Linked DNA regions of Homo sapiens: all the other regions are linked to region 2. Evidence: promoter capture Hi-C in 16 types of primary human blood cells and fetal thymus (Javierre and others, 2016). All regions are on one chromosome and are shown on one strand. Each heading gives the region's core, a stretch centred on a gene start or on the middle of the fragment in contact. The rest is flanking DNA. Distances are from core to core; before and after follow the strand shown.

Region 1 (2,731 bases), core at 20-2,519, 340 kb before region 2:
TGAACTGTGGCCCACAGGAAGAGGGGCCTGGGGGCCTGGCCTCCTGGGTCTGAGGGAGGAGGGGGCTGGGGGCCTGGACTCCTGGGTCTGAGGGAGGAGGGGCTGGGGGCCTGGACTCCTGGGTCTGAGGGAGGAGGGGCTGGGGGCCTGGACTCCAGGGTCTGAGGGAGGAGGGGCTGGGGGCCTGGACTCCAGGGTCTGAGGGAGGAGGGACTGGGGACCTGGACTCCTGGGTCTGAGGGAGGAGGGGCTGGGGGCCTGGACTCCTAGGTCTGAGGGAGGAGGAACTGGGGACCTGGACTCCTGGGCCTGAGGGAGGAGGGGCTGGGGACCTGGACTCCTGGCTCTGAGGGAGGAGGGGCTGGGGGCCTGGACTCCAGGGTCTGAGGGAGGAGGAGCTGGGGGCCTGGACTCCTGGGTCTGAGGGAGGAGGGGCTGGGGGCCTGGACTCCTGGGTCTGAGGGACGAGGGGCTGGGGGCCTGGGCTCCAGGGTCTGAGGGAGGAGGGGCTGGGGGCCTGGACTCCTGGGTCTGAGGGAGGAGGGGCTGGGGGCCTGGACTCCTGGGTCTGAGGGAGGAGGGGCTGGGGGCCTGGGCTCCAGGGTCTGAGGGAGGAGGGGCTGGGGGCCTGGACTCCTGGGTCTGAGGGAGGAGGGGCTGGGGGCCTGGACTCCTGGGTCTGAGGGAGGAGGGGCTGGGGGCCTGGGCTCCAGGGTCTGAGGGAGGAGGGGCTGGGGGCCTGGACTCCTGGGTCTGAGGGAGGAGGGGCTGGGGGCCTGGGCTCCAGGGTCTGAGAGAGGAGGGGCTGGGCCTGGACTCCTGGGTCTGAGGGAGGAGGGGCTGGGGGCCTGGACTCCTGGGCTGAGGGAGGAGGGGCTGGGGGCCTGGACTCCTGGGTCTGAGGGAGGAGGGGCTGGGGGCCTGGACTCCTGGGTCTGAGGGAGGAGGGGCTGGGGGCCTGGACTCCAGGGTCTGAGGGAGGAGGGGCTGGGGACCTGGGCTCCTGGGTCTGAGAGAGGAGGGACTGGGGCTAGTCTCCTAGGTCCATGGGAGGATGAGATTGGGACTTGAAGGAGGAGGGAGCTGGGTTTTAGGAAGTATCCCAGACTCCGTGTTCTGCGGATGTGGTGGAAAGACGTGGGGACGCCTGGGGCGGGAGGGGTAGGGGCCGGGCCGCAGTAACAAAGGCCTCTCCCTCCAACAAGCAACCCCCCCTTGACCCCGCCTCCCCGGCCCCCCACCTCTCCTGATTGGCCGGTCTCCCTGCCCGTCAGCGCCGCCCCCCTCCCCGGGTCTGCAGCAGCTCCAGCCGCCTCGTCGCGCCCCCCCAGCCCCCTCCCCCCGCCCCCGCCGCCCCCCGGGCCGGTGCAGCGCAGGCGGGGTCCCCCTCCCCCTCCCCCCTCTCCCCCCAGGCCTCGCGCGCCCCGGACCGGCCCCCCCTTTCCCCTCCCCCTCCGCGCCGCCTCTGCCGCGATGCCCCCCCCTGCGCCCGGGGCCCGGCTCCGGCTTCTCGCCGCCGCCGCCCTGGCCGGCTTGGCCGTCATCAGCCGAGGTACCGCAGCGCCGGGGGCGGGGGGCTCGGCCGGGACGCCAGGGTCTTGGGTGGGTAATCGGGGGATCAGGGGTGGGGGTCGAGGGCTGCATCCCTGGGCCGGCGCGGGGAGGCCCCGGGACGCCGGGGTCTGGGCCCGGGGGTGGGGTCTGCATTCCCTGGCTGGGCAGGGGGACCTCGGACGTGGGGGTCCGCGCCCCGGGGCAGGGGTCGGCGTCCTCGGGCCGGAGCCGGGTCTAGGGGCGGAGGTCTGCTTCCCCGAGCAGGCAAGAGGGTCGCAGACACCTAGCCCTGCCTGGGGGCAGGAGTCTGCGGCTCCTGTTGAGGAGGGGGCAGACACTGGACTCGGGGTCCCCGGGTCGGATCTCCGAACTGAGTTGGGGTGGGGGGCAGGGGATAATGCCCTGTTAGGGGTCTTCATCTGTACGTGGAGAGGGTCCCTGAAGAGGTCCTTGCCGGGGGCTGGGGTAGTCATCTCGGGACAGAGGTCAGGGGATGGATGCCTTCCCAGGGTCAGTAAGAGGAGGGGACAAGGGTGTCCACAGACCTAGTCCCAGGGTCAGGAAAAGAGGGGAAGGGTCTGAAATCCCCCAGCAGGGTCATCTAGGTTGAGAGAAAGTGTTGGTACTTGGGGAGGTTGCAGTTATGTGGGGGAGAAGGGAGCTGGAGATACAGGAAGTTGGGGTGCTGGGCTGGGGTCTTGGATTCCCAAGCTCTGATTGAATGTCTAGGTTCGTGGGGCTGGACAGTGGAAGAGCGATGGGCATGGGAGGATGAAGGAAAGACGGAAGGGAAGGGTTAAAGCAGGTTGAAGGGTTAACCCCGGCCCGGCCCGGCCCTCCCAGTTGGGGAGAGGGCCAGGGGCAGGTTTCTGCACTGAGGTTAGATAGCTGGACCTTGAGTCTCCCCAGTAGGGCCTGGCAGGCAGGGGGTGGTCAAGGAGATTCCTAGATTTCCCCCTAAGAAAAGGGAGGAGAGTGCAAGGAGGCAGGAGGCTGGAGGGTGGGCGCTCAGGAGGGCAGGGAGCTGGGTTAATTCAGACTTTCTGGAGGATTCCCCCAGGCCCTCCCCTGAACAAAGAGTTCCAGGGACAACCAAGAACCCCGACAGAGTCCCCAAGAGTCTCAGAGAGGCCGCCCGCATAGACCAAGTCTGGCACAGAAACCCCGTCACAGCGTC
Region 2 (2,868 bases), core at 369-2,868:
AAAATGGCTAAGATGACAAATTTTGTGCTATGTGTATTTTCTCACAATGAAAAAATAAATCTGAAAAAGAGAGCAGAGAAAAGGGAGAAGCCAAAAGAAATACTAGGTCTGTTCGTGCAAGATCTTAGTGACTGGGATTGGGGGGTTGGGAGCAGGAAGGACCCAGACCCAGGGGCTGAGGGGTGAGGGAGGGTCTCCTCTCCCAATGCTGAACCCTGAGCTAATAGAAGGCTCCCATCACAGCCCCAGAGGGAAGAGGGTCTTTCCTACCTGTGCCTGTGCCATTTCTGAAGAAGATGCTGATGGCGAGGTTCTGTGGAGCATCTGGGATAGAAAGATACAGCACCAGCTTCAGAGGTGACAAGAGGGATGGGCGTGGTCCCGGGAGGGACCCAAGGAGGGGCCACAGAAACCCACCAGGTGGGGACCGCTGTCCTTCCTGCCCACACACGAGTTTTCCCTGGTTATCATTCTCTTTCTCTCTCTCTCTTCTACACACACACACACACACACACACACACCCCCCTCACTCCCACTGCCCTTGGGGACTCAGCTGTGTCCCCAGCACCACTCACAGGAGACATTGAGCTGGACAGTTCTCTCCGTGGTCACCTGAGCTCCTTGGCGTTTCACCTGACAGGTGAGGTTGGTGCCATGGTCCTCGGGCCTGGGGGTGAGGGTGAGCTCCGAGGAGCGGGTGGTCTCGGGGTCCAGGGGGCTGAGGGCATTCCCCGTCCAGGAGAATGTGAGAGGTGGTCCCGCTTCACAGGATCCTGGAAGGCTGCAGCTCAGCCTTGTGGGGCGGCCGGACTCCAGAGGCTCCAGAAAGTGGATGTCGGGTTTCTCTATCAGGGCTGAGGAGGAGACAGGGAGATACCTGGGCCCCAGGGGCTTGAGGACGTAAGGTGTGACCCCGAGAGTGGCCAGGCCTCAGGCCCCGACCTGCCCCAAGTCCTACACCTCCTCCAGCCGCCCCTGCCCAACTCCTGTCCCTGTTCTCATACGGGGGTCTCCACGTCCCAGGGTCCTCTCCTAGGGTTCCTGCCATACCTGTCACCTCCAAGTTCAGCTTATTCTGTTGGTAGCTATATTTTACATCCCTTCCTCTCTCCACGCGGAAGAAATAGCTTCCCGTGTCCTCCATTCTGGCATCTCCGATGCTCAGGGAGCAGTTCTTCTTCTGGACATCCCCAAGGAGGCGGAATCGGCCCTGGGTCTCTGGCTTCACTCTTCTGTCTGGGTTGTTTGTGGCCACAACCTCAGCGTAGTATGGGATCTCCCCGTCCCGGAACCAGTAGACGTAGAGTGGGGGAGAGGAATACCAGGATCTCCAGGGGTAAGAGAAGGAGCAGGGCACAAGGACGCACAGGCCCTCCTGCACCGTCACCGACTTCTGCACTTGCAGCTCGTACACTGGCTTCTCCTGCAGGGACCCTGGGGGGACACAGAAGCTCAGCTGCAGCTCCAGCCCCCCTTCTCACCCCTGTGCCTGTCCCTCCTCCCTCAGCTCACTCACCCCCCCACAGCAGGGGCAGCAGCAGCAGGGGCAGCATGTCTCCATCCGCCAGGGCCCCAGCCCAGTCCCAGGTCCGGCTGTCAGGGAAGGAAATGCTCCAAATGTCCAAACGTGGGGTGGGGCTGAGAAAGCCCCGACAGGAAGCCGGAGGGTGAGTGAGAGCTGTGGACGCGCACAGAAGGGGAACTTGGGCATCACGTGCTGTTGGGGTGAGGCTGGGGCTGGGAAGCCATTCTGCTCCCACCCCCACTGGACGCCGATGGTGAAGATACTGAGGCCCCCAGAGGGGCTTGTCCAGACTTGTAAGTCTAGACTCCTGAGGTCACCAGGTCCCATAGCTGCAGCACTTTCCTTATGCACCTTTGTCTACATAGGAAGGAGAACACCACTTGGCCAGCTCCCTGGGAGTCAGGGCCTCGGGACCCTCAGCGAGATGGGAGAATAAATCCTTTATGACATGATAGGAGCTGTGGTGAGGGAAGCACACGCTGGGGGTTTCAGGTGGGGAAGACTTTCCTCTTTCCAGAGGGAAGGCAAGTTGTCAGGGACAAACACATCAGGTGGACATGACCGGGTCCTTAGCAGTCAAGAGAGATGTGGTCCCCACCACCAGTTGGATTTGGGAACCTCATCTCATCCTTGTCCTTGTCCCAGGCAGCGTCAGACCCCATCCCTGATGTTGACAGCCAGATGAGGCTTGAGAGCCGGGCATTTGAAATGTGAACGTTGAGGATATGGAATACCAAGTGTGAACCCAGACCCCTCACCTACCGGCTGTTGAACTTTACAAAAGTTACCTACCCTCTCTGTGCCTCAGTTTGCTCAGCTGAAAAATGCAGACAATAATAGAATTGCTGTGTGGGGATTCAGTGAGGTCTCATGTGTAAAGTGCTTAGGACAGTGTCTGGCCCCGAGAATTCACTCATTCAACTGATGCTTCATGGGCGCCTATGGTGCACCAGGCCCCCTGTTTTAGGAGCTGGAGATACAGCAAAGGATAAACTCTTAGGATGAGAAGGTAAGTCAAAAATCCTAGTGGGGGCTCCTCTGGGCACACTGCTTATGCATACCCCTGCTCCACGAAGAACAGTAAAAAAAGAAGGCCGGGCGCAGTGGCTCACGCCTGTAATCCCAGCACTTTGGGAGACCGAGGCGGGTGGATCACGAGGTCAGGAGATCAAGACCGTCCTGGCTAACATGGTGAAACCCCGTCTCTACTAAAAATACAAAAAATTAGCCGGGCGTGGTGGCGGGCGCCTGTAGTCCCAGCTACTGGGGGGGCTGAGGCAGGAGGACGGCGTAACCCGGGAGGTGGAGCTTGCAGTGAGCCGAGATCGCACCACTGCACTCCA
Region 3 (2,917 bases), core at 121-2,620, 470 kb before region 2:
CTGTTGTCATCAAGGAAGTCTAGACCTGCTCTTCCTCCCTGTGATCCCTCCAGCCTCTAGCAGGGCACAGGAAGTTGAGTTGGCTGCCCTTTGCTCCCTTCATGTGGCCACACTTACAGGTCCTTGTCTCTTCACTCAATGTCAGTTTCCACAAGAAGAAGGCGGTGAGGGCAGTGGAGGTTGAGGAGAATGTATATGCTGTCATGGGTTAATCTCTCAGGTGAGTGATGTGGGCCTCTCACTCTTCAACATCCTGCTGGATAACTCCTCCACAATGGCCTCCAGGATTGCTCTGCCCATCATGGCCAAAGTTAAGCCAACTGTCTTCCTCCTCAAACCTACTTTTCCTGGGATGTGGGTTCTTCATCCTGCAGATGACAAAGAGGCCTCATCTCTAAAGTCAGAACCTGGGTGTGGGTCTCCATCTTGACCCCCCTCCCTTCTCTAGATCCCATAAATTACTAGCTCTTGTCCCTCCTTCTCCTAAGCAGGGCTCATCTTGATGCCCTTTTCTCCATCCTGACCCTGGTCATTCTTGCGGCCTCACCTCTTCCCTGATCACTGAACCCTTTTCACCTCCTGCCTCCATCTCTCCCCAACACAGGCCTCCAGACTGTACTTCCAGATGTCTCCTCATCCAGTTCCTCCACAGTCTGAATGGCCATGTTTCCTCTTCATTGCTGGAGAATGAAGTGCAAATGCCACTGCCTGGACTGAAGGCCTTTCACGATCTGTCTTCTGCTGGACTCTGCTCCTGATCCCCCTTCTCCTTGCATCACCCGAAGTCTCCCTACACCCACCAGGCCAAGCCCTCTGTGATTCTGAGACTTTGCATGTGTAGTTACTTCTCCTGAAATGGCCTTCCTCCCCATTCCTGCCAATCCAGGTCCTTATCATCCTTCAGGTTGTCTTAAATGTCATCCAGGTGTGTGTATTTTTATGTAATCCTTGTATGATATTAAGCGGAGATGTGGCATTTGTTCATTAATTTGTAGACATATTCAGTAACCATACTGAATACATATAATGACTATGTGCCAGCATTTCCGTATGTGCAAGAAGTTCATCAATAGATATAGACTCAAAGAGCTCTGTCATCAAGCTGTTGTTCTGAAGAGCAGAAGGATACAAATAAAAAGAAATAAGTAAAATATTTTTTCCCATGTTGGATAGAGATATTTGTTTAGAGAAAAATAACACAGGGAAATAAGCACAGACTATACTGGGAAACAGTTTCTATATCTGATAGTGGAAAGAGGTGACATTTAGGCAAAGACGTGAAGGTGCTGAAGAGGCGGGCTCTGAGTCTGAATAAGAGAAAAGCATCCCAGGAAAAGGATAAGGGGAAGAGCAAGTGCACTGCTCAGAGGCAGCAGCAGGCCTGGGGGTTGTGGGCTCAACCAGAGCCCCATGTCTTAGAGCAGAGGAAGGGTAAGGAGGGAGCAGCAGGAAGGAAGCTGCAGACTGCGTGGGGTGCTGCAGCGCGCACAGGAGCCTGGAGCCTTTGGGAAGGGCAGAGACACAACTGGACTCTCACTCTGACCTCAAATGCCTGAGTCAGAGCAGGCCCAAGTGGGTCATGGCAGCCACAGGAAGACGGGGAAGGCACTGCTGGGTCCTCCAGGAGGAGGGATGAGGGCTGAGCCAGCGAGGCAGGGTGGGGTGAGGACATGTTTTTGGATGTGTGTGGAAGATCAAGCTAATAAGGATCACAGGCTAACTATGTGTTCAGTGAGGGGAAGGCAATACAAAGGACGAGGCCGGAATGTTCCCCTGGGCACCTGGAAGGAAGGAGCTTTGTCCATAGAGGACTGAAGAGGGAAGGACTTTCCTAGAGAATGATTAATTCTGAGAATCCACCTGACATCAGAATGGGACTAGGAGGGAGACAGCCGGATGTAACTGTCAGGAGCTCAAGAGAGGGGTCCAGATTGGAGATGTTACAATGCACATTCAACAACTTGGTTCAGTTTCCAAAAATATTACTGCTGAGATGAAAGAATACAGACACAAATGAGTACATTTCTAGGAAATTCTCATGTGGACAAAAGTAACTCACCATGAGAGAGAGCATATCAATGGTTACCCAGCACAGGAGGTGAGAATGGTGAGCTGCAAAGAGGCTTAGAAAAAGCAGAGTCATGTGGGATATGAGAACTGAGCACAGGTGGGTAGGAAATGTAGGAAATGAAGTTGGAGAGAGATGGAGGCTACAAATATTGCAGTGTCCTGAGTCCATTATACTTATTTATGCATTTGAGCAAAAGAGTGAGATGAAATGACACTTACTTTAGTGGGGTCACTCAGGCTGCAGTGTGAGAAAGTATAGATGAGAGGAGACCAGATTAGTGGATACAGAGAATCCAGTGAAGAGATGACGCAGACATAGTCCTGGGTAAGGATGATGAATCTCATGTGGAGAAGTTGGGTTCTGGACACATCTTGAAGATGAAGCCAATAGTATTTGCGAATGGAGTGACGGAGTGCACGTAGGGTAAGAGCAAAGATAGCTCGTGGCCTCTGCTTGATAGGTGCCACAGATATCACAGGTGAGTCCACAGATATCATAGATGTCATGGATATCCATGAAGACATCCATGACCTCAATAATATCATGGAGAGTCTGATTACACCTCCATAGATGTCACAGATGCCCACAGGTGCCAAAGATGATGCCCATGTGGTTACCCAGAATGGAGACTTAAATAATTTAACTGCCAACAACTAAAATTGCCAACCCTGCAGGAGGAGAATATTCTTAAGTGTAGATCAAATATTGTTTTGGTTACTGTAATTTGGAGGTGGTCCCGAGCCACCCACGTAGGGATTGTAGGTAGAAGGCAGGAGTCTGAAGTTCAGGAAAGGGGTCCAGGTGGGAGATACACAGGTTTGGGAGCCTCCACATTAAGGTTTGATG
Region 4 (2,870 bases), core at 326-2,825, 350 kb before region 2:
AGGATGAGGGTTCTAAAACAGAAGGGTAACTTCCTGACGTTGCCATGGCATCTGTAACCTGTCATGGTGCTGGTGGGGGTGTAGCAGTGAGGACGACCAGAGGTCACTCTTGTCGCCATCTTGGTTTTGGTGGGTTTTGGCCAGCTTCTTTACTGCAAGCTGTTTTATCAGCAAGGTCTTTATGACCTGTATTTTGTGCCGACCTCCTATCTCATCCTGTGACTTAGAATGCCTTCACTGTCCAGGAATGCAGCCCAGTAGGTCTCAGCCTTATTTTACCCAGCCCCTGTTCAAGATGGAGTTACTCTGGTTCAAATACCTCTGACAATATCGTAGAGCAAACCAGGCCTCAGGGAGGTGGACACTGAACGAGGACATATGCAGATGTGTAGGGACAAATGTTGGGAAGTGCCTGGAGGAAAACGGGGAGCTGGGAGAGAGTGTGGCAAGGGGACGGGGCGGGGAGCAGCCTTCAGGTACTTGCTCTGAGGCCTAAAGGAGTGTGGGGAGCTGCCCAGACTGAGGGAGCCGCAGTTCTAGGCTCTGAGATTGCAAAGGTTTATCGAGTTCAAGAGCCCAGCAGGGCCAGATGAGCTCAGAGCTTAAGGAGAGCTTGGGAGAGGCTAACCTGCTGGCAGAGCCTCAAGGGCTCTGGTGAGAAGTTTGGGTTTCATCTTCCCTCGTGGAGGGCTATTGCCTCTCATGCTTGGTCATCCTGGAAGGTGAGCTGCTCTCAGTGGGGACTTTACCTGCAAGAAGCATATGCGGACAATGTGGTGGGCAAGTCCCCCTGAAATGAGTTTTGTGTGAGTTGCCCAACAGCGAAACACACCGGGGGCTATTTGTGTTCATTGCTCACTTTGTCGCTCTCTGATGCAAATCTCTATAAATGGAGGCCTCAGCTTCTAAGATAAATACAAAAAGGTTTTTTTTTGCCACCGAAAGCCCAGGCCAAAATAGACATGCTTCCTTGTCATTCCCTTGATCAATGACTAGATTTTTTTTCTGGCGCCCCCCTTGATGTGGGGGTGTCATATCCAGGTTGCTACCTAGTATGGACCCAAGGCCTTGTTGTCTGCTGTCACTGGACCATTTAAAGCAAGTCCCTTGGTAATCATAACAGCAAGCCCCCGCTTCCCCACAACCCAGCAGTGTGCAGCCAACCCTCAGTTGATGCGTGGCCTCTGATCTTCAGTCCCCAACGTCCTTACGACCTCAGCCCCATCAGTATTTTCGGATGTTTTTGTAGAGCAAGTGTTTTCAGACAGGAAATGGACGTTTGAATCTTATTGTCTGAACGCAGAAAGAAACAATGGAAGGATCTCCATTTGGGGAGGAACAGGTCGGGTCTTTAAAGCTTGCTCAGGCTGCTCTGCAGGGGACACGGGACAGAAGGACACAGCCGCCAGCCAGGGACCAGCAGGTGGCCCCTGCAGCTGCCAGAGCAAGAAAGGAAAGGGAACAGTTATATAATCCATGGGACAGCCATACAACAGAACAACACAGCTGTCAGAAAGAGCAAGGCGATGTGCCGGGCATGGACATGCAGACATGAGCCAGCAATATTCGAAGGAGGAAGAAAGGTGCAAAAAAAAAGACCTGTCCAAAACTGAAAAGTATATATGGAGACATCGCAGAGCAGCAAGAGAAGCAGGAATGGACCAGACACGAAGGGCCACCAGGCTGAAGGGCTGGGCTGTGTCCTGGGGGGACTGGGAAGCCATGGGAGGGCTGTGAGCAGGAGAGGAGCCGGGCAGCTCTGGGGGACAGAGTGAATTCCAGGAGGCCCAGAAAGAAGCTTGGGAGAGGGTCCACGCCAAGACAATAGAGGTTCTTATCCCCATTTGACGGCGTGGGGTGGGGCTGTGCTGGTCTCAGAACCAGGAAGCGGAGGAAGCTGGTGTTCTGGGCCCAGCCCAGGGCTCCTTCTGGGAACTGGACGGGGCAGGGACTGAGCACAGCATTCACCACGGGGCTTCCTGCCTTAGAATGAAGATGCTTACCTGGTGGGAGGAGCATCAGAGTCCCAAGGCCAAAGAAGGCTTGCCCCTTAAGAAACCAGAGCTGCTGGAGGAAACAGAAGTACCCAAAATGCCTGAAGCTGACACCCCACCAGACCGGGCTGGAGGTAAGTCCCTGGGACAGTCACAGGCAGACTGTCAAGCAACAGGGCCGCAGGCCAGGGCCCCCACCCCATCACCTGGCAGAACCCCGGGGAGGCACTTGTTCAGGACGGAGAGACCCAGGCCCCCTCGCCCCACACAGCAGATGCTACATTTGCCAAAACAAAGCCCCACAGACTGGGCGGCTTGAACGGCAGATACTGATTTTCTCCCCCTCTGGAGGCTGGAAATCCCAGGTCAAGGTGCCAGCAGCAGAGCTTCCTTCTGAGGCCTCTCACCTTGGCCGGTAGATGCTGTCTTCTCCCTGTGTCCTCACAGGGTCATCCCTCTGCGTGTGCCTGGGTCCTAATTTCCTTCCCTTGTAAGGACACCAGTCATTGAATTCAGGCCCATCATGTGACATCACTTAACCTTAATCACCGATGTTAAGACCTTGTCTCCAATACAGTCACATTCTGAGTCACTGGGGGTTAGGATGTCAACATATGAATGATGGGGGGTGGGGTGGATCCACACTTCCGCTCATAACAGAGGCTTAAGGAGGCTGCTTGGATTCCCCCGTGTTGGGTACTTAGAGAGGGGATTGGGCTTGTCTAAGGCAGCGGAGCAACCGACTGTGGTTCTCCCAAAGTCTAGGGCTCTGGAGAGAAAGAAGAGTGTAGACTCCGAGATGGATCACGGCATGCGGCCCAGGACGTGGAAACCTGGCCCAGGCAGAGGTGCGACTCCATCCCAGACTCCAGACCC
Region 5 (2,700 bases), core at 15-2,514, 390 kb before region 2:
ACTCTCAAACATAGAGATCGCTGCTATTCTGAATTTGACATTTTATTCTGTGTACTAAGGAACTTAACCTTGCCTGAAGAGAAGTCTGGCCTTTGCCCTTGGCTTCTGGAAGACACTCCCTAGCTCTTAGAATGTCACACCTCATAGGGGTGTCTTTGTTTGCCCAGGGACCTTGCATCACACTGAATATTCTAGAAATGTGATTTAGGATGAGGGCTGGCCACACCAGATAATGTTAACAATGTGATTTAGAGTGGAAGCAATACCAGATAGTCTAACAATGTGATTTAGAATAGGGGCTTTGGATCAAATGGTATCAGCTCAACTTCAGGAGGAGCTGGATGCTAAGATCCACCATGAGGGAAGTCACCATGTTACACGATGGAGGCCCAATAAAAACACTGGACACAAGGCTTGGGTGAGCTTCTTTAGTTGACAGTACTATGCATATTGTCACACATTATCACCAGGAAAGCTAAGTTATGCTGTCCATGACTCCACAGGGAGAGGATAACTAGAAGCTTTGTGTGGGGAACTTCTGGCCTCTGCCCTGTATGTCTTCCCTTGGCTGATTTTAATCTCTATCCTTTAGTTGTAGTAAACAGTAATCACGAGTATAACAGCTTTCAGTGAATTCTGTGAGTACTTCTAGTGAATTACCAAACCTAAGGGTAGTTTTGGGGTTCCAAAACCTTGCAAATGATTTGAGAAATGAGGGTAATCAGGGATCCTTGATATCTTCAGTTGGTGTCAGAAATGAGGGGATCTTGTGGACCATTCCCTAACTTTTCAGTTGTATCAGAAATGGGATTCACTAGAACAGCCCTGACTCACTGAAACATATGGTTTGAAAAGAGGAAGGATGTGAAGTCAAGATGATAAGCCTTTGATTCCTGGGCTGTCCTGCGGTCACCTGTGCGTATAGAAATGCAGCTGTTCTGCAAACAGTTACAGGAGGTAAAAGTTACCATTGCTTTTTCAATACAATGGATCCAACCCCCAAGGAGCTGACCCACTGGATGCATAAGGAAACAAACTAAATAGGCAGTCCCTTGGCTATTTTTATCTGTAATCGTTAAAATGAAAGTGGCTGAGGCGGATCCTGATGCTGGCCCAATCTTGGGCTCTGGCCAGCCTGAGCTACAGCTGCTAGCCTCAGGGCTGTGGCTAAAGGGAAAAGTTAGGCTGAAATGACAGATGGCAAAGAAAATTAGAGTGGTTCACCAGAGAGTGAGAAAAGACGAACATTTCCAAGAGGGTGGAAATCTTTATAAACAGTTATTAAGAAATGAGATGAGTTAAGTGGACATTGAGGGAGTCTAAACAAAGGTCTCAGTGGAGCACTCTTAGAAATTAGGTGGAGCAGTGAGAACCTAGACTTGCCCTCCAGTGTTGAAGGTCCCCCATCAAGTCTGCTATATTTACCCTAGTTTGGAGGAATTTTAGAAGCCAGAAGGCAAACATGACAATGGGAAATCTGACCTCAGATCTCCTGAGGGGACGAACATGTGATCTAATCAAGATAAATGACAAAAGGGCCTGGGTTGCTTGGCCTGACCCCTAACTGAAGACCCAAAGTCATATGCATATTAGTAGTAAAATAGTCAGGGGATGGATAAGAGATATTTCTGGGACTCATGTGGGAGTCTTATACCTGCATTCCAAAAGGTTGGTGAAATTCTAATAGCATCTATGGTTAGATTGCGAAGACATAGGATTACAAAGTGGATGAGATTCAGGCGAAACTTTGGATGAAAATTGGAATGTTTGGACAGACTATGTAAATATGTTATGTGAATGTATTTACCTAAATGTATTATGAGGAAAGATATTGTGTCCAACTATGGAAGAGTTCCCCTACGTACTATTATGAAACAGAAGGCATGTAAATCTTCCCTTCAACCAATATTGATTGAATATGCTAAATAGGAACCAATAAGATTGCCCAAGCCCACACTAATTGTTAATTTGAAACAGTACAGGATATCTGGTGGACAAAACATGTTAGAAGCTTAACGTTTGCTTTATTTAGGCAGACTGGAGCTAAGGCCAGTGAGCACCACCCAGTGGTGAATGCTGGGATTTGGGGCCAGAAAATTTCCAATGGAGAGACAACTAGCTGCCTATTGGGCTTTGAGTCTGCCCCATCATTGAAGGATATAATAATCCTGACACCTGAAATCCTCATGATGTGTTTGTCATGTTGGAAAAACACTGTAGTAAGGAAGGCCATGCCCAAAAGAGTCTCGTAATAAAATGGAAATTGTTTATACAGGAACATGCTACCAGGGAAATGCAAGGAGGTCCTCGTTATATTTATGAACAGGTGGCTTTTTCCCTACTGAAGAGCTGCGAGATCCTATTATTACTTGAATGATGTCTATTAATAGCTCTTGATTGACCAACTAAGAGCGGTTTGATTTATGGATGGCAATTCCAAAGTGAATTAATAACATCCTGTTTGGAAGACTGGCACTCATACTGAGGAAGGCAAAAACAAGTCACTTCAGTGGGCTGAACTGCCTCCACATTTGGGTTTTTACCAATTCATGGGCAGTGGCCAATGGCCTGGCCATATGGTCAGGCAGATGGGCAATGGGAAACTGTACTATTAAAAGGATGCCTATATAGGGTACAGCCTTATGGAATTCACTATAGCCAGTATCTCAAAAGACCTGTTCATACCCCCTACAAATGATA
Region 6 (2,700 bases), core at 132-2,631, 440 kb before region 2:
AATACATTTACCCAAGGAGGTGTAAGTCTTGTGTACTGAAAAATAAAAAATATTGCTGAAAGAAAATAAAGAAGACCTGAATCAACTGAAAAACACCCTGTGTTCATGGATTGGTAGAATTAATATTAAGATGGTAATATTCCTCAAATCAAGATTCAGTGCAATCCCTATCAAAACCCTAATGGATGTTTTTACTGACATGAAAAAAAAACTATCCTTAAAATTCATATGGAATCACAAGAGACTTCAAATAGCCAAAATGATTTTGAAAGTGAAAACATTGTAGGACTCACATTTCCTGATTTTACAACTTACCACAAAGTCACAGGAATTAAACTGGGTAGGCACTTGGTTTCTCAAGCCGCCTGCTTGGCCCTCTTCCAAGTGTACTTTCCTTCCTTCCTTTCTTTCCTTTCCTTGCTTTCCTTACTCTTCTAAAGCTTTTAAATAAACTTTCGCTGCCATAAAATAAAATAAAAAACTAGGTGGTACCGATACTGATCAATGGAATAGAATTGAGAGCCAGATATAAAGTGATAAATTTATGGTCCACTGATAATTCAGTAAGGATACCAAGACCATTTAATGAAAAACGATAATGTCTTTAACAAATGGTTCTGGGGCAACTGGAGAGCCACGTGAATAAAAATGAAGTTGGACTCCTTCCACATAAAGTATGCAGTATAGGCCGAGCGCAGTGGCTCATACCTGTAATCCCAACACTTTGGGAGGCTGCGGCGGGTGGATCACTTGAGCTCAGGAATTTGTGACCAGGATGGGCAACACAGCAAAACCCTACCTCTAAAAAAATCACAAAAAATTAGCCAGGCATGGTGGCATGCACCAGTAGTCTCAGCTACTCAAGAGGCTGAGGTGGGAGGATCACTTGGGCCCAGGAGGTCAAGGCTGCAGTGAGCTGTGTTCATTCCACTGCACTCCAGCCTGGGTGACAAAGTGAGATCCTGTCCCCACCAGAAAAAGAAAAAAAGAAAATACACAGTATAGTAATTAACTCAAAAAGGACCAAAGACTGAGGTGTAAGAACTAAAATTATGAAACTCTTAGGAGAAAACATACAAGTATATCTTCATGGCCTTAGATTTGGAAGGTGTTTCTTAGATATGTCACCAAAAACACAAGCAACATGAGAAGAAATAGATGAATTGGACTTAAAATTTAAAATTCTTATGCATCGAAGGATATTATCAAGAAAGTAAAAAGAATGGGACCAAATATTTGCAAATAATATATCTAATGAGCCTAGTATCCCCAAAGAAGATTCGCTACTCAACCACAAAGAGACAAAAATCCCAACTTTAAAATGGACAAAGGTCATGAATAGACATTTATCCAAAGAAGGTATAGAAACGACCAACAAACACACAAAAAGATGCTCAACATTATTGTCACTATGGCAATGGAAAGCAAAACTCTACAACGATTAAGATGGCTGTAATTAGTAAAACGGAACATAACACGTGTCGGTGAGGATGTGGAGAAATTGGAATTCTCATACACTGTATTTGGGAATGTAAAAGGATTCAGCCGCTGTGGAAAAGAGTCTGCAAGTTCCTCAATAGGTTAAACATAGAGTTATTGATATGGTTTATCTATGTCCCTGTCCAAACTCATGTTAAATTGTAATCCCCAATGTTGGAGGTGGGGCCTGGTGGGAGGTGATTGGATCGTGGAGGTGGAATTTTCATAGTTCAGCACCATCTCCTTGGTGCTGTTAAGACAGTGAGTAAGTTCTCATGAGATCTGGTTGTTTAAAAGTGTGTAGCACCTCCTTCCTCACTCTCTTTCTCATGCTCCCGCCATGTGAGACTCCTCCCTCGTGCTTCACTTTATGCCATGATTGGAAACTTCCTGAGGCCTCCCCGGAAGCAGAAGTCGCCATGCTTCCCTTACAGCCTGCAGAACTGTGAGCCAATTAAACCTATTTTCCTCACAAATTACCTAGTCTCAGGTATTTCTTTATAGCAATGCAAGAACAGACTAATACAGTTATCATATTGACTAGCAATTTCACTCCTTGGGATATACCCAAAGGAATTGGAAACAGATATTCAAATGAAAATCTGTACATAAATTTTCATGGCAGCACTACTACTCACATGAGCCAAAAAGTACAAACAACTAAAATGCCCAGTAACTGACAAATGGATAAATGGAATGTGGTCTTTCCATGCAATGGGATATCACTCAGTCCAAAAAAAGAAATGAAATAATGATGCATGCTACAACAAGGATTATCCTCGTAAACATGGATTTACCTTGAAAACATTACCCTTGGTAAAAGAAGCCAGACATGGAAACTCATCAAGCTTAGTAGGCCATTTAGAGAAAACCCACAGGTAACATTACACTCAATGATGAAAGACTGAAATTATTCCATTCACATTAAATATCCAGCATAGATAAATCCATGGAAATAGGTACACGTTAGTAGTTTCCAGGGGCTCTGGGAAGCAGGCAATAGAAAGTGACTGTTTCCCTTTCAGGGTGATAAAAATGTTCAGAAACTAGATGGTGGTGATGATTACACAGCACTGTGAATGCAATAAATGCCACTGAATTTTATACTTTTTCTTTTTTTTGAGACAGAGTTTCACTCTGTCACCCAGGCTAGAGTAGAACGGTGCGATCTCAGCTCACTGCAACCTCCGCCTCCTGGATTCAAGCAATTCTCATGCCTCC
Region 7 (2,893 bases), core at 222-2,721, 370 kb before region 2:
TCCTTCGTATGCTTCACATCTCTCTGACCTCCACTTCTGGCTCATGTATGCCCTTTCTTTCTCCTGAATCTCTCTGACTTTTCTGCTTTGCAAGTTTCACGTGATTACATTACATTCACTCAGATAGTGCAGGATGATCTCCTCAATTTAAGATCAGCAGATTAGTCACCTTCACTCTATCAGCAAAGTCCCTTCACTCAGTCAGCAAAGTCCCTTCACTGAAGCACGTAGATTAATGTTTAATTGAATAACCAGGGCACAGGAATCTTGGAATGGGAGACATCTTTAGAATTTTGCCTACCACACAAGTCGAGGGGGAAGACATTTGTAACTCATATGGTGCAAAACTATATGCTTTTCCCACTGTCTTTCTCAAACCTTGTGAGGTGGACAGGACAGTTTGATTTATTCCCATATTTTATACATGAAGCATGGGACTCAGAGAGGAGAAGAGGCTTCAACCGTGATGACACAGCAGTTCTGAAGGCAGCCTGGCATACCGGAAAGAACACTGGGTTCGGAGTCCAGGGACCTACATTATGACTTCAGGATGTCCATTTCTTGGCCCTGTGAACCTGACTAGTTCCTATGCTGTTCTGGGCCTCAGTTTCCTTATCTGCGAAGTGATGCATTGAGAACTACATCACAGTGCTGTTGTGAGATTGAGAATGATAAAGTATGTGAATCTCCAGTGCACAGCACATGGGCCACCATGATTGTTCGGTATTATTTATTTATTTATTTTAAGGTATCTGCAGAGCCACAGCTAGAACCCAGATTTATTTATTTATTTATTTATCTCTCTCTCTTTCTCTCCCTTTCTCTCTCTCTCTCTCTGTCTGTCTCCCAGGCTGGAATGCAGTGGCACAATCTCTGCTCACTGCAGCCTCTGCCTCCTGGGTTCAAGTGATTCTCATAACTCAGCCTCCTGAGCAGTTGGGACTACAGGCGCATGCCACCACGCCTGGCTAATTTTTGCTTTTTAAGTAGAGAAGGGATTTTGCCATGTTGGCTAGGCTGGTCTCGAACTCCTGGCCTCAAGTGAGCTGCCCGCCTTGGCCTCCCAAAGTGCTGGGATTACAGGTGTGAGTCCCCGCGCCTTGCCAAAACCCCAAATTTCTTGGTTCCAAATCTTCTTTCATTTGATAAAGCTTTATTATGCACCAGCTGTGTTCCAGATTGTGTGTTGGGTACTAGAGACACAAAAGTGACTCAGACTTGACTTTGAAAGGTGGACTCCATTATGTCACATAAAGGTACCTTGGGCATGACACACAAAGGCCACCCAGAAGTGGTACACAAAGGTGATTCCAACATGACACACAAAAGATATTTGGACATGACTAATTTTCTCAAGGAACTCACATTCTGGTCAGAATAGATACAGAGTTACTTCCCTGCGTACTGTGAAGGGGCAGAAGCTGACCAAGGAGAGAAAGAGAAACAGAGGGGAAGTAGGGTTAGGTAGTATTTCTAGCAGTCTGCCAAAATCTGTCAAATTTTGGAGTTTATTTTGACAGTAAAGTGAAGCCAACAGATGGTAACGAACAGGGAACTGACATGATTGATTTATAATTTAAAAGGATGCCATGCAGATGTGGAAATGTGAAGGGGCAATGGTGGAAATATCACTGGAACAATGGAGTAATGGAAATTCCACTGTCCTTCCTCAGCTGCAGAGCCCCCTGCAGAGTCTCCTTGTCATCTTCCTCCAAAAGTTTTCTAGGAGTCCCCAAGGAGTCTCCTATGTCTTCACAAACAGGCCCCATTCATCTGGTACCTGCAAGCATGGAAGCTTTACTTTTTTTTTATGGTGGGGATGGAGTCTTGCTCTGTCACCCAGGCTGGAGCGCAGTGGCGCGATCTTGGCTCACTGCAACCTCTGCCTCCCCAGTTCAAGCAATTCTCCCACCTCAGCCTCCCGAGTAACTGGGACTACAGGCATGTGCCATCACACCTGGCTAATTTTTGTACTTTTAGTAGAGATGGGGTTTCTCCATGTTGCCCAGGCTGGCCTCAAACTCCTAGGCTCCAGCAATCTGCCCGTCTCGGCCTCCCAAAATGCTGGGATTCCAGGCGTGAGCCACCACGCCTGGCCTAGGAGTTCACTTTTGGCTAGATTCCCTGGTAAGGCATTTTATCAGTTTCCCAACTAGCGTGACAATCAAATGGAGAAGAGATATGGCAGTGGGCTGTGTGGGGTTGTTACAATAGCTCCACAGGGTCATCAGAAAACCAGGCTCCCCATGTTGTTGTCAGTGACATCCCCAGATCTCTAGCTTTCATTCTCACAGTTGTCTCATAGTCGCCAGGTGGCTGCACCATCTCCAGCATCACGTTCATCTTCCAGGAAGTAAGAAGAGGAAGGTGAGGAGGAGGAAATGATGGTGCTAGTGTCAGAAAAGCAGAACTCCCAAAACTCTCCAGCAGATAGCCTCTTAAGTTTGGTATTTTTAAGTAGACAAGTCTCTCAAAATGTGCGCTCAGTAATCTAGTGGAGTTAAAGATTTCTTTTATTTATTTATTTATTTATTTATTTATTTATTTATTTATTTATTTTTGAGATGGAGTTTCACTCTTGTTGCCCAGGCTGGAGTGCAATGGTGCAATCTCAGCTCACTGCAACCTCCGCCTCCCGGGTTCAAGCGATTCTTCTGCCTCAGCCTCCCCAGTAGCTGGGATTACAGGCGCGCCTGCCACTACACCCTCTATATATATATTTGTATTTTTAGTAGAGACGGGGTTTCACCAGGCTGATCTCAAACTCCTGACCTCAGGTGATCCACCTGCCTCAGCCTTCCAAAGTGCTGGGATTACGGGCATGAGCCACCACGCCTGGCCAGGTTTTTATTTTTATTTTTTTGCATTGTTCATGAGAAAGAAGAGTACGGTC

The links. Contacts are between HindIII fragments. The CHiCAGO score rates a contact against its expected background, and 5 or more counts as called.
Region 1: the fragment with the promoter of IGLON5 here is called in contact with the fragment with the promoter of SIGLEC14 in region 2 in 11 of 17 cell types (activated CD4 T cells, erythroblasts, naive CD4 T cells and 8 more); the score reaches 14.6 in activated CD4 T cells.
Region 3: a contact is called between a fragment that was not itself captured here and the fragment with the promoter of SIGLEC14 in region 2, in 3 of 17 cell types (megakaryocytes, erythroblasts and neutrophils). The highest score is 6.1, in megakaryocytes.
Region 4: a fragment that was not itself captured here is called in contact with the fragment with the promoter of SIGLEC14 in region 2 in 3 of 17 cell types (erythroblasts, megakaryocytes and endothelial precursors); the score reaches 10.2 in erythroblasts.
Region 5: a contact is called between a fragment that was not itself captured here and the fragment with the promoter of SIGLEC14 in region 2, in 4 of 17 cell types (erythroblasts, megakaryocytes, M2 macrophages and 1 more). The highest score is 8.8, in erythroblasts.
Region 6: a contact is called between a fragment that was not itself captured here and the fragment with the promoter of SIGLEC14 in region 2, in 1 of 17 cell types (megakaryocytes). The highest score is 5.1, in megakaryocytes.
Region 7: a fragment that was not itself captured here is called in contact with the fragment with the promoter of SIGLEC14 in region 2 in 5 of 17 cell types (megakaryocytes, erythroblasts, endothelial precursors and 2 more); the score reaches 8.8 in megakaryocytes.

What each region holds. Positions count from the first base shown.
Region 1 is chr19:51,310,375-51,313,105 of GRCh38, forward strand. It overlaps IGLON5 (IgLON family member 5), which reads left to right and starts at 1,270. Exons shown (of 8, transcript NM_001101372.3): 1 at 1,270-1,552. The coding sequence starts at 1,474. The HindIII fragment of the contact is 5,776 bases long and covers 1-2,731 here.
Region 2 is chr19:51,645,207-51,648,074 of GRCh38, forward strand. It overlaps SIGLEC14 (sialic acid binding Ig like lectin 14), which reads right to left and starts at 1,619. Exons shown (of 7, transcript NM_001098612.3): 1 at 1,517-1,619; 2 at 1,051-1,434; 3 at 576-854; 4 at 271-324. The coding sequence starts at 1,553. The HindIII fragment of the contact is 8,795 bases long and covers 1-2,868 here.
Region 3 is chr19:51,172,372-51,175,288 of GRCh38, forward strand. All of the region lies in intron 1 of LOC101928517 (a long non-coding RNA gene), which reads right to left. It also overlaps the pseudogene SIGLEC17P. Among named protein-coding and RNA genes, the nearest start is that of SIGLEC7, 32 kb to the left of the region's middle. The HindIII fragment of the contact is 5,922 bases long and covers 1-2,917 here.
Region 4 is chr19:51,291,790-51,294,659 of GRCh38, forward strand. No RefSeq gene overlaps it. Among named protein-coding and RNA genes, the nearest start is that of IGLON5, 18 kb to the right of the region's middle. RefSeq lists enhancers at 681-1,359, 1,360-2,038, 2,717-2,870. The HindIII fragment of the contact is 441 bases long and covers 1,356-1,796 here.
Region 5 is chr19:51,257,483-51,260,182 of GRCh38, forward strand. The region is part of intron 1 of SIGLECL1 (SIGLEC family like 1); the gene reads left to right. The region is part of intron 2 of LOC107985327 (a long non-coding RNA gene); the gene reads right to left. Among named protein-coding and RNA genes, the nearest start is that of SIGLECL1, 7.8 kb to the left of the region's middle. The HindIII fragment of the contact is 1,490 bases long and covers 520-2,009 here.
Region 6 is chr19:51,203,765-51,206,464 of GRCh38, forward strand. All of the region lies in intron 2 of LOC107985327 (a long non-coding RNA gene), which reads right to left. Among named protein-coding and RNA genes, the nearest start is that of MIR8074, 1.9 kb to the right of the region's middle. The HindIII fragment of the contact is 1,887 bases long and covers 439-2,325 here.
Region 7 is chr19:51,274,079-51,276,971 of GRCh38, forward strand. All of the region lies in intron 1 of LINC01872 (long intergenic non-protein coding RNA 1872), which reads left to right. Among named protein-coding and RNA genes, the nearest start is that of LINC01872, 4.3 kb to the left of the region's middle. The HindIII fragment of the contact is 644 bases long and covers 1,150-1,793 here.